3 separate regions of the Homo sapiens genome follow, and all the other regions are linked to region 3. Evidence: promoter capture Hi-C in human tissues and cell types (Jung and others, 2019). All regions are on one chromosome and are shown on one strand. Each heading gives the region's core, a stretch centred on a gene start or on the middle of the fragment in contact. The rest is flanking DNA. Distances are from core to core; before and after follow the strand shown. Region 1 overlaps STRADA (STE20 related adaptor alpha). Region 2 holds the start of STRADA (STE20 related adaptor alpha). Region 3 holds the start of ICAM2 (intercellular adhesion molecule 2).

Region 1 (4,003 bases), core at 335-2,834, 310 kb before region 3:
ATCCTTCTCTCTTTTTTTTTTTTTTTTTTTCAGACAAGAGTCTCACTCTGCCACCCAGGCTGGAGTGCAGTGGTGTGATCTCCAGTCACTGCAACCTCCGCCTCCCAGGTTCAAGCGATTCTCCTGCCTCAGCTTGTAGTCCCAGCTACTGGGACTACAAGCATGTGCCACCACACCCGGCTAATTTTTGTATTTTTAGTAGAGACAGGGTTTCACTATGTTGGCCAGGCTGGTCTCAAACTCCTGACCTTGTGATCCACCTGCCTTGGCCTCCCAAGCGCTGTGATTACAGGCGTGAGCCATCGCGCTGGGCCCTGTTTCTTTTCAGAGCAAAGAGATCTTCAGCAAGAATCCAGATCCTTGATTTTAAACTCTGGCTTCATTAACTTCAGTCAAACTTCACTTTACCTGAAGGCTCAGGGGCATAGCTACCCACTGTAATCATGGGAAAGGCCGCCTAAGAACGCACCTGTGTACATATCCCATGTGGTGGATGTAGTCGAGGGCCTTCAGCACCCCCTGCAGGATGTAAGCAATCGCCAGCTCATTCATGCCATCCATGAAGTGTGTACAGATGAGATCTTTTGCAGAACCTGCAGAAAAGGATTGCATGGAGGCAGTGAAAGGTAATGGAGGAGGAAAACACAGGCAATCTGACAACAGAGTCCCAATAACCCCTTTCTACCAAGAACCCTTTCCCACTCACCGTATGCCATGAATGATGTGACAACCCACAGCTCATTGTCTGCAATAAAAGTGGCTCGATATGGCACGATATTGGGATGGTTGAAGAGTTTGGAGACATGCAGCTCGCCCTGGAAGCAATGATGAAGCTGAAGTCAGAACCAAATGGCACTGAAGGATGCCGCTCAACACAAAGATGGCAGCATGGACAATAGGGGGACCTGGCACTTTCTGGGTGTTCTCAGAGTCATGGGAACAGCCTAAGCAGGTGCCTGCCAACATAGGAAAAACAAGGCCCTGCTGCCTCTGCAGGGACCCAGCACTGCTTTGCCTCTGCCAGATAGGGAAACTGCCAACAACAAAGGGTGCCAGCACACCGACTCAGAGATGATGAAGGCAAACTGTTGACTGAAGACTTCTGAAGTTATAAGCTTATCTCAATTTCAAGGGCCAACGTATAGAATTCCTCTTTAAGATAAGAAAACAAAAAATATTTTGTTGTTGTTATTTGTAGAGACAAGGTCTCACTGTGTTGCCCAGGCTGGTCTCAAACTCCTGGGCTCAAGCAGTCCTTCTGCCTCAGCCTCCCAAAGTGCTAGGATTATAGGCGTGAGCCACCAAGCCACTGCACCTGGCCAAAAATGTTTTCTTTTTTATTTTTTTGAGACAGGGTCTTGCTCTGTCACCCAGGCTGGAGTGCAGTGGTGTGATCCCGTCTCACTGCAGCCTGAACTTCCCAGGCTCAAGTCATCCTCCCACCTCAGCCTCGCTGGTAGCTGCGACCACAGGTGGACGTCAACATACCTAGCTAATTTTTTATATTTTTTTGTAGAGACAGGGTTTTGCCATGTTGCCTAGGCCTGCTTTGGCCTCCCAAAGTGCTGGGATTGCAGGCGTGAGCCACTGTGCCCAGCCCAAAACTATGTTTCTATTATAAAAGAAAACATGGCCGGGCATGGTGGCTCACGCCTGTAATCCCAGCACTTTGGGAGGCGAGGCAGGCAGATCACTTGAGCCCAAGAGTTGGAGACCAGCCTGGGCAACATGGCGAAACCCCATCTATATGAAACATACAAAAAATTAGTTGAGCATGGTGGTGCATGCCTTTAGTCCCAGCTACTCGGGAAGCTTAAGTGGTAGAATCACCTGTGCCTGAGCAGTTGAGGCTGTGGTGAGCTGTGATTGCACCACCGCACTCCAGCCTGAGCAACAGAGCCAGACCTTGTCTCAAATAAAGAAAAAAAAAAGAAAAAGAAAACACAGTTGATGGAGGAGAAGGCCAGCTGAGACTGGCTTCTGCTCCATCCTCAGACCCACCAAACTACTATGAACAGATGAACAGGTCCTAGAGCACCATCAGGTAACCACCAATTCAGAAAAAGTTGTAAATGAAGGAGGGGAGGGGCTGCAACTAACTCTACTGAAGGAAAACTGCCCCAGGCCCTGACTCTAAGCTGGCATCAGGAAAGGAGAGTCTAACTCCCAAGCACTTACTAGACTCACAGTCTCTCTCCGTTTTGTTTTGTTTTATTTTTTGAGCCAGGGACTCAGTCTGTCACCCAGGCTGGAGTTTGGTAGTGCAATCTCAAACTCCCGGGCTCAAGCAATCTCCCTGCCTTGCCCTCCCAAAGTGTTGGGATTACAGGCATGAGCTACCATGCCTGCCCCCTCTCTCAGTTTAACGAGAGAGTGGCTACTTGCTTCTCGAATAGAAAGGAATGTCAGGACTGGGCATAGTGGCTCACACCTGTAATCCTAGCATTTTGGGAGACTGAGGTGAGTTGATTGCTCGAGCTCAGGAGTTTGAGACCAGCCTGGGCAAGATGGTGAAACTCTGTCTCTACAAAAAATACAAAAATTAGTCAGGTGTGGTGTGCCTATAGTCCCAGCTACTTGGGGGGCTGAGGCAGGAGAATCATTTGAGCCCAGGAGGTTAAGGCTGCAGTAAGCCGTGGTCCTGCCACTGTACTCCAGCCAGGGCAATAAAATGAGACCCTGTCTCGAAAAAAAAGAGGCCAGATGCGGTGGCTCACATTTGTAATCACAGCACTTTGGGAGACCAAGGCAGGCAGATCACCTGAAGTCAGGAGTTTGAGACCAGCCTGGCCAACATGAAGAAACCCCGTCTTTTCTAAAAATACAAAAGTTAGCCGGGCATGGTGGTGTGCGCCTATAGTCCCAGCTACTCGGGAGGCTAAGGCAGGAGAATCGCTTGAACCTGGGAGGTGGGGGTTGCAGTGAGCCGAGATCGTGCCACTGCACTCCAGCCTGGGTGACAGAGTGAGAATCCGTCTCAAAAAAAAAAAAAAAGAAAAGAAAAAGAAAGGAACATCAGGCAAACAGGAGGCTGAGAGCCAGAAGATGGCCACTGGTGGCAGGGCAGGCACCTTGTGTCTGGAACAAGATGGCCTGGGTTTGAATCCTGCCTCTGCCATGAGCAAGTTACTTAGCTTCTTTCTAAATAATAAATAAATGAATAAAAAAGCCAGAAGGGAGTGTTTGGAGAAGAAAAGGGAAATATAAATTAGGCTGAGCAGCATTTCAGCCCAATCCTTAGTGCCAAATGGCCAGGATTCTCCACTGAAAGCTTCCATAACTTCCGAACGTTTAGTCTCCCTTCATTTCTTTGTAATTCCTTGTAATTCCTATCAGAGCCAAGAGCCCACCCTCCCTCCATGTGACACACTCATGGTTTATTACCTGCAAGAATGTTACCATCTCATTGGAACAAGCTTCTAGGTTAATCCTCCGTACAGTCACGTACTCTCCTGTTGGTTTGTACCTTGCTAGATTCACAGTCATCAGGTCCTCAAATCCTTTGCCTAAAAGAAAAAGGGAATGCCATACGCAAGGACAAGAACAACAAAAGGTTTTAAGAAAATTTTCCTTTAAAAAAGGGACTTGATTTCAAAAGAAACTTAATGTTAAATTTTTCACTACTGTTACTTTTTTTTTTTTCCTTTTCCCAGCAGAATTTAACTGTTATGTTCATGGCTCACATTTCTTGATTTTTCTCTCATCAGTTCCTTCTCAGCCAACCTTTCTGACTCACTATGGCCAGGACACCGGAAACATGGCAGCCACAAAGGAAAGATGGCAAAAGAGCTTCTTTCCTGGAAGTTTGATCTCTTCCCATACTTGGCATAAAAAAACAGAGAAGACCCACAGAAGCAAGTCTGTGCCCATGAATCCTCCTAACTAGTGGATGGCCTCTGCTGTACACACATCTGGGGCTGCTGAGAAAGCTGCAGCAGCCCCTGGAGCAGAAAGCAGGAGAGTAAGGACGGCCCCTGCACATACCTATCACAGTGAGCAGCTC
Region 2 (3,878 bases), core at 975-3,474, 280 kb before region 3:
GAGGGCAGATGGATATCATTCGAAAGATATATCCACACTTATCAAAAATTAAGAAATACATATGTATGTGTATATTATATATTATGCATATATGTATATATTATATATGTACATAGTGTATTAATATGTATACATATATAATTTTATGTGTATATATTATGTATACATATTGATACATTATATATTTATGTATATATGTACATATATACATATAATGTACATAATTATATGTATATACATATAATGTACATAATTATATGTATATACATATAATGTACATAATTATATGGCCCGGGACGGCTGCTCCGACGAAGGCCCGGGCCTGGGGAGATGGAATCGGTGGCAGAGCGAGGAGTGACTGGCTCCGGCAGTGCACCAGGCACCCCGCCAGGCAGGTACCTGTTCCTGGTTTCAAACTCCGGAGCTCAAGCAATCCTACTGCCTCAGTCTCTCAAAGTGCTGGGATTACAGAGGTGGGCCACGGTACCCAGCCTATCAGAAACATTTAACACTATATATATATATATATATATACATACATACATATATATATACACATACATATATATATATACACACACACACACACACACACACACACACACACACAACAAAGCAATATTACTAGTGGACAGACATAGAAATAGCTTTATTGGCCGGGCGCGGTGGCTCACGCCTGTAATCCCAGCACTTTGGGAGGTCGAGGCTGGTGGATCACCTGAGGTCAGGACCTCAGAGATCGGCCTGACCAACATGGTGAAACCCCGTCTCTACTGAAAATACAAAAATTAACCAGGTGTGGTGGGGGGTGCCTGTAATGCCAGCTACTCGGAAGGCTGAGGCAGGATAACTGCTTGTACCAAGGAGGCCGAGGTTGCAGTGAGCGGAGATCGCGCCATTGCATTCCAGCCTGGGGGACGAGGGCGAAACTCCATCTCAAAAAAATTAAAATAAAAATAAAGAGAGAAAATAATAAACCCAGCAAACATTTATGGCAAACTTCCTACGTGTCAGGCACTGTGCTAAATGCTTCATGAGCAGCTCACAAGTATTATCATCTCTGTTTTACGGATCAGGAAATTCAGGTGTGCAGGGAGGTTAAATGCCCAAAGTCACACAGATAAGTGGTAGGGGACTAATTAAATCTGTTCCAAAGCCTGCGCTCTAAAAACCAGAGTAAACTTCCTCCATTTCTGGGGCCACAACTATAAACACTGCATTCCAGCCAAAACACCTCTAAGAAATCTGATTAAAAAGTAGGGGACAGATTTGACCAGTTCAGCACTGTAACTAAAGGCTGAATTCACAGGCTTTTGGCAGGTGATCAAATTTGGTTTCTTCCTTAACTCTCAGGGACAAGAAACAGTCCTGGGTGTCTTCAGGAAGGTATGAGTGTCAATGAAGAATTGTCTTAACGTCGCATATACGTATTGGAACATGCTTCTACTTGAACAGATATTACAATAAGAAAAGGGCAAATTCCAACGGCTCTTTCTCCGGGAAAGTCAAGTTAAAGTATGTTAGGATACAGGAGAAGGCTGGGCAGAGAGGTTAGTTCCCTATTTCCTGAGAACTATGAACAATTTTACCTACCCACTGCCCCTCCCTCGAGCTCTCTTCCTTATCCCCAACCCCCATCTCCGGCGCCCAAATCCCCTGCAGGCACCCAAAAAACATTTCTGGAAAACAAAAAGACAATGAGCTCTTCGTTTAGGCCGATTCTGGGAGTCATCTGGATCTTGTGTCCTTACGAGGACTTGACCCGCTGCCTGTCAGCCCAAAGTGCGCGGCGGCTGGGGACAGCGGGGAGCCCAGGACCGGGGTCGGCCGCCACTCTGCCTGAACAGGACAAACCGGCACCCAGCCCTAGGTTCCCCACCTGGAAGTCCTAGGGGGTGGGGAGGAAGGGGAAAGCAGGAGCCCGCCTCTCTCGCCCGGCAACTCCGCTTCAGCGTCTCCCCGCCAGGCCCAAGCCTATTCTGCTCTCGGGCTGCGGCGCCTCATTGCGGGAGTCGAGGACGCGGGTTAAAAAGGGGGCCCGTGGAGGGTGAGGTGAGCCCAGGATGGCCGCTCCGACGAAGGCCCGGGCCTGGGGAGATGGAATCGGTGGCAGAGCCAGGAGGGACTGGCCCCGGCAGCGTACCAGGCACCCCGCCAGGCAGGTACCTGTTCCTGGAGTTAGCAAGCAGCCCCGACCGTCTTGGCTCCGCCTCCTCAGTTTTACTGCCGCGCCGCCGCCAGACCGGTTGCTGGGAGGGGAGTACGCAACGTGCCATGCGCAGTGGGGCGACCGGGAGGACTGATAGAGCGCTCCGCCCCACCCCGCCCTGCGGGGAAGTCCCGCCCTTTCCGAGTGGCCGCGGCTGCGGCAGGCCCTAGCAGCCGCCGCCGCGCCGAGAGCGGTTCTCAGTTCCCGTTGTCTTTCCCGCCGCGCAGCGCTTCCGCCTACAGCCTCCGCCCCCGCAGCAGGAGGGGGAAGCAGGTGGCTTCAACAATGAAGGACCAGAGAAAGGCAAACTTGGCTGTTCCTGAGAATTGTGTTTTTCTCATTTCATGTGGTAGGACTTCTAATGGAAAACCCGCCTCGCACTTTTCTTGGACGACATCTCAAATGCCCCTCACTTTGGCCTCTCGGGCACCAGACAACAAGCTGCAAAGGGGAAGCCCATCCTTTCTTTGCTCCCCACTATTTGTAAAACAAGGAAAATAGCTCAACTAATGAAAACGATCTTGTCCCCTCAGTATCTTTTTTTTTCCCCCGAAGCCTTCCTCATCCACAGCTGAAGCCGTTTGTGGAAACCTATCAGGTTTGTCCAAGCCAGGTTATGCAGAGCTTGAGAAATGAGGAAGCGATGAACTAAGCCTCACTCCTGTGAGACTAGGTTTTTCAGTGACTTATCCCCCGCGTGCGCAGGAGGGGGTATCCAAAACGCGGATATATACCATCAGGTAATGAACACTCGCTCTTGCCAGCTCTGAGCTTTGACACAGATTTAGACCGTCCTAACTTCCAAGACTGGGGGAGGAGTTTAGCTACATCCAAGTAGGGACTTATAGAAATATGCCCCTGGAAGGCCGGGCGCGGTGGCTCACGCCTGTAATCCCAGCACTTTGGGAGGCCGACGCGGGTGGTTCACTAGGTCAGGAGATCGAGACCATCCTGGTTAATACGGCGAAACCCCGTCTCTACTAAAAGTACAAAAAAATTAGCCGGGCGTGGTGACAGGCGCCCGTAATCCCAGCTACTATGGAGGCTGAGGCAGCAGAATGGCCTGAACCCGGGAGGCGGAGCTTGCAGTGTGCAGAGATCGCGTCACTGCACTTCCAGCCTGGGCGACAGAGCGAGACTCCGTCTCAAAAAAAAAAAAAAAAAAAAAGAAAAAAAGAAATATGCCCCTGAAACTGTGGGACCTGTATGCACATGAGTTCTCATTTGATCTTACATACATCACTTTGATTTTTTTTTTTTTTTTTTTTGAGATGGAGTCTTGCTCTGTTGCCCAGGCTGGAATGCAGTGACGTGATCTGGGCTCACTGCAACCTCTGCCTCCTGGGCTCAAGCAATTCTCCTGACTCAGCCTCCCAAGTCGCTGGGACTACAGGCGCACGCCACAACGCCTGGCTGATTTTTGTATTTTTAGTAGAGACGAGGTTTCACCATATTGGTCAGGCTGGTCTTAAAATCCTGACCTCAGGTGATCCACCAGCCTCGGCCTCCCAAAGTGCTGGGATTACAGGTGTGAGCCATCTGTGCTGGGCCACATCATTTTGATTTTATCGAGTGCTTTGACATTGCTAAGGGCTACCCTCACATGCTCTCATTCTCAAAATAAGATGCCACTCTCAGGAGCAAACTTGGTAAACTCACAAAGCAACAG
Region 3 (4,295 bases), core at 669-3,168:
TTTTTTTTTTTTTTTTTTTTTTTTTGAGACGGGGTCTCGTTGTGTCGCCCAGGCTGGAGTGCAGTGGCGCGATCTTGGCTTACTGCAACCTCCACCTCCCGGGTTCGAGCTATTCTCCTGCCTCAGTCTCCCGAATAGCTGAAACTACAGGCGTACGCCACCACACCCAGCTAATTTTTGTATTTTTAGTAGAGATGGGGTTTCATCTTGTTGGCCAGGACCGTCTCTATCTCTTGACCTCATGATCCTCCTGCCTTGGCCTCCCAAAGTGCTGGGATTACAGGCATGAGCCACTGCTCCCGGCCTTACTTCTCACTATCTGTGTGACCTTGAGCAAATCACTTAATCTTTCTGTGCCTCAATTTCCTCATCTGCAAAAAGGAATCAATAATAGTATCTTCCTCATAGGGTTTTTGTGCAGATTAAACAAATAAAATAAGTAAATATTTTAAAGCATTTAGAACAGTGCCTAGCACACAGTAACGCTATATAACTGTTTCATAAAATAAAAATAAATAGGCATAGCCAGGTGCAGCAGTTCAAGACTGTAGTCCCAACTAATCAGGAGGCTGAGGTGGGAAGATCACTGGATCCCAGGAGTTCGAGGTTGTAGTGTGCTATGATCATGCCTGTGAATAGCCACTGCACTCCAGCCTGGGAAATATAGTGTGACCCCATCTCAGTAAATAAATAAATAAATAAATAAATAGAGATGCATATGTAATAAAGCACTTAAAAATAAGAGAACAATAAACACAAAATTCCAGAGGGTGGCTACCTGTGGGTGGGAGGCAAGTAGCATAAAAGTGGACAAGTGGTGGCCAGGTGTGGTGGCTCACGCCTGTAATCCCAGCATTTTGGGAGGCCGAGGTGGGCGGATCATGAGGTCAAGAGATCGAGACTCTCCTGGCCAACATAGTGAAACCCTGTCGCTACCAAAAACACAAAAATTAGCTGGGCATGGTGGCATGCGCACCTGTAGTCCCAGCTACTTGGGAGGCTGAGACAAGAGAATCGCTTGAACCCAGCAGGCGAAGGTTGTGGTGAGCCAAGATTGTGCCACTGCACTCCAGCCTGGGCGACAAGAATGAAAACTCTGTCTCAAAAAAAAAAAAAAAAAAAAAAAGCAGATAAGTGGTGTTTGCAGTTTGGTGATACTCCATCCTTGTGCTGAGTGGCAGCTTCAGGTGTGTTTGGTATATTACTGTGCAGTATGATGTATATGTATGTTACATAAGCTTTTTATGCGTTACCTAGTAAATTTTACAAAAATAATAAAAGGGAAAAAGGGCCTTTCTACGTGCCTAGAAAGAAGAGGCTTCATGGGAATGTGAGCCATGGGTTAGGAAAGACCCCCTCGAACCGAGGCAGGTAGGAAGTGAGTGACTGAGATTCATTATGAACCCACCACGCCTGCCGGGGAGAACAGGGACTGTCCCTTCCCCTCTGCATCAGCTCAGATGGTCCAGATCACAGCCCACGTGGGCCCCTAAATAAGGAGGCAGCCCCACATTTCTACATCGGCCACCGAGATGGCAGAGCAGAGGAAGGAGAGAGGGGAGACAAATCAGGAAAGGAGCGCCAGGGCAAGTGCGTGAGCTCAGAGACCCAGCAGGGCAGGGCAGGAGCTTCACAGAGTGCAGAATGTCGAGCCACAGGAGCGCTGGGGATTCCCCAACCCCTGCACTTACCAGCGAGAAACTGAGACCCAGAGAGGGGAACGGACTAAAACTCAGACCTCGACACTGCCAAAATCCTTCCCATGCTGCCACGCTTCATTGGAGGGAAAGTGAGAAGCTCAACCTTACCCCTGTGGGCTCCAAGAAGGGTAGCTCTGGGATCCCGGGCAGGAAATTGGTGACAAGGTGACAAGGTGCGCGTGTCACAGCTGCCCAGTTCACGGCTTATTCAGTCTTCTCCCTCCCCCCACTCCCCACCAGAAGTGACGTGCTTCCTGTGCCCCGGTTCCCACCCTAAACTAGCCTCATTTAGCTCCACTCCCATTCCGCTTTTTTTTTTTTTAATTGTGGTAAAACGTACACAACAGAATTTACCATTTCAATTTTTTTTTTTTTTTTAGACTGAGTCTCAGTCACCCAGGCTGGAGTGCAGTGGTGTGATCTCGGCTCACTGCAACCTCTGCCTCCCGAGTTCACGTGATTCTTGTGCCTCAGCCCGCAGAGTAACCGGGACCACAGGCACCTGCCACCACGCCTGGCTAATTTTTGTATTTTTAGTAGAGACAGGGTTTCACCATGTTGGCCAGGCTGGTCTCGAACTCCTGACCTCAAGTGAACTGCCTTCCTCGGCCTCCTAAAGTGCTAGGATTACAGGCAAGAGCCACTGCGTCCAGCCAATTTTTTGTTGTGTTGTTTTTAAGACAGAGTCTTGCTTTTGTCACCTAGGCTGGAGTGCAGTGGCACAATCACAGTTCGTGGCAACCTCTGACCCCTGAGCTCAAGTGACCCTCCCTCCTCAACTTCCCAAGTGACTGGGACTACAAGTGTGCAGCCACCAGGCTTGGCTAATTTCTGTAGTTTTTGTAGAGACAGAGTGTTGCTTATGTTGCCCAGCCTGGTCTCAAACTCTTGAGCTCAAGCAATCCTCCCACCTCAGCCTCCCAAATGCTGGGAATGAGCCACCGTGCTAGGCCCATTTTAATTATGTTTAAGTGTACAGTTTGGGGCACTAAGTACATTCACATTGTTCTGCAACCATCACCACCATCCATCTCTGGAGCTCTCTCTTTCTCTTTTCTTTCTTTTTTTTTTTTTGAGATGGAGTTTCGCTCTGTTGCCCAGGCTGGAGTGCAGTGGTGTGATCTTGGCTCACTGTAACCTCTGCCTCCCAGGTTCAAACGATTCTCTTGCCTCAGTGTTTTTGTTGTTGTTGTTGTTGTTTGTTTGTTTGTTTGTTTTGTAGAGATGGAGCCTCACTCTGTCGCCCAGGCTGGAGTGCTGGAGTGCAGTGGTGTGATCTCGGCTCACTGCAACCTCCGCCTCCCGAGTTCAAGCAATTCTCCTGCCTCAGCCTCCTGAGTAGCTGGGACTACAGGTGCACGCCACCACGCCTGGTTAATTTCTTTTGTATTTTAGCAGAGATGGGGTTTCACCATGTTGCCTAGGCTGGTCTCAAACTCTTGAGCTCAGGCAATCCGCCCGCCTTGGCCTCCCAAAGTGTTGGGATTACAGGCATGAGCCACCGTGCCTGGCCTTGCCTCAGCCTCTTGAGTAGCTGGGATTACAGGCACGTGCCGACTGGCTAATTTTTGTATTTTTAGTAGAGATGGGGTTTCATCATGTCGGCCAGGCTGGTCTCGAACTCCTGACCTCAAATGATCCGCCCACCTCAGCCTCCCAAAGTGCTGGTATTACAGGCATGAACCACCACGCTTGGCCAGAACTGCCTTCCTTTTGAAGGCTGAGCAATATCCTATTGTGCGTGTGTGCCGCATTCTGTTCATGCATTCATATACTGATGGACACCTGTGTTGCTTCCACCTTTGGCTATTGTGAATAGTGCTGCTACAAACAGGGTTGTACAAATACCTGCTCAAGACTCTGCTTTCAGTTCTCTGGGGTATGTACCCAGAAGTGGAAATGCTGGATCATAATGGTAAAATATACACAACAAAATCTACCATCTTAACCTTTTTTCTTTTTTTTTTTTAGTGGTAATTCTGACTGGGCTTGGTGGCTCACACTTGTAAATCCGGCACTTTGGGAGGCTGAGGTGGGAGGATTGCTTGAGTCTAGGACTTCAAGACCAGCCTGGGTGACAAAGTGAGACCCCATCGCTACAAAAAAAAAAAAAAGTAATTTTGTTTAATTTTTGAAGATTTGCCATCCTGTTTTCCTTACTCCTCCCTTTGATGTGCAGTTTCTGTACTCACTGGGGCCTTCTGTGAATGAGGCAGTTCCAGGACAAGCTACCTTCTGGTCCCCCAAGTGAGGCAGGCGAAGATCACAGAGCTGAGGCTTCCTTGGCTGTGACACACCATTCCAAAAAAGCCTCTTATTAGTGACTAAGACCTATCACTTCATCAAATCTTATCAGACCTGCCACCTTGCCTAGCAATTTTACAACAATTACTCTAGAAGAGTGACTTTGTACAAACAAGCAGAAAGTATGAACACTGGGTGCAGAGGTGGGTGGCGGGCAGCCAGCTAGGCTCACCCACGAGCAGAGGATCTTGCTCCCACGGGCCAGCCTCACAGCACATTGAAACTTCTGGCTTAGCAAAGTCACAAATTAGACCATTCAGAGGCCAGGAGGACAGTCAAGGCCACACATTG

What was found. Contacts are between HindIII fragments. The study calls those that stand out against the background at their distance.
Region 1: a contact is called between a fragment that was not itself captured here and the fragment with the promoter of ICAM2 in region 3, in 1 of the 25 tissues and cell types used here (psoas muscle).
Region 2: a contact is called between the fragment with the promoter of STRADA here and the fragment with the promoter of ICAM2 in region 3, in 1 of the 25 tissues and cell types used here (IMR-90 fibroblasts).

The regions. Positions count from the first base shown.
Region 1 is chr17:63,710,022-63,714,024 of GRCh38, forward strand. STRADA (STE20 related adaptor alpha) reads right to left here. Exons shown (of 13, transcript NM_001003787.4): 5 at 3,985-4,003; 6 at 3,385-3,506; 7 at 707-815; 8 at 470-593. Among named protein-coding and RNA genes, the nearest start is that of LIMD2, 12 kb to the left of the region's middle. RefSeq lists a silencer at 308-602. The HindIII fragment of the contact is 3,518 bases long and covers 1-3,343 here.
Region 2 is chr17:63,739,575-63,743,452 of GRCh38, forward strand. STRADA (STE20 related adaptor alpha) reads right to left here and starts at 2,225. Exons shown (of 13, transcript NM_001003787.4): 1 at 2,167-2,225. RefSeq lists an enhancer at 351-850 and silencers at 716-884, 2,388-2,507. The HindIII fragment of the contact is 12,282 bases long and covers 1-3,878 here.
Region 3 is chr17:64,018,715-64,023,009 of GRCh38, forward strand. It overlaps ICAM2 (intercellular adhesion molecule 2), which reads right to left and starts at 1,919. Exons shown (of 5, transcript NM_001099789.2): 1 at 1,809-1,919. RefSeq lists enhancers at 1,539-1,658, 1,753-2,253, 1,999-2,088, 2,309-2,358. The HindIII fragment of the contact is 6,467 bases long and covers 1-4,295 here.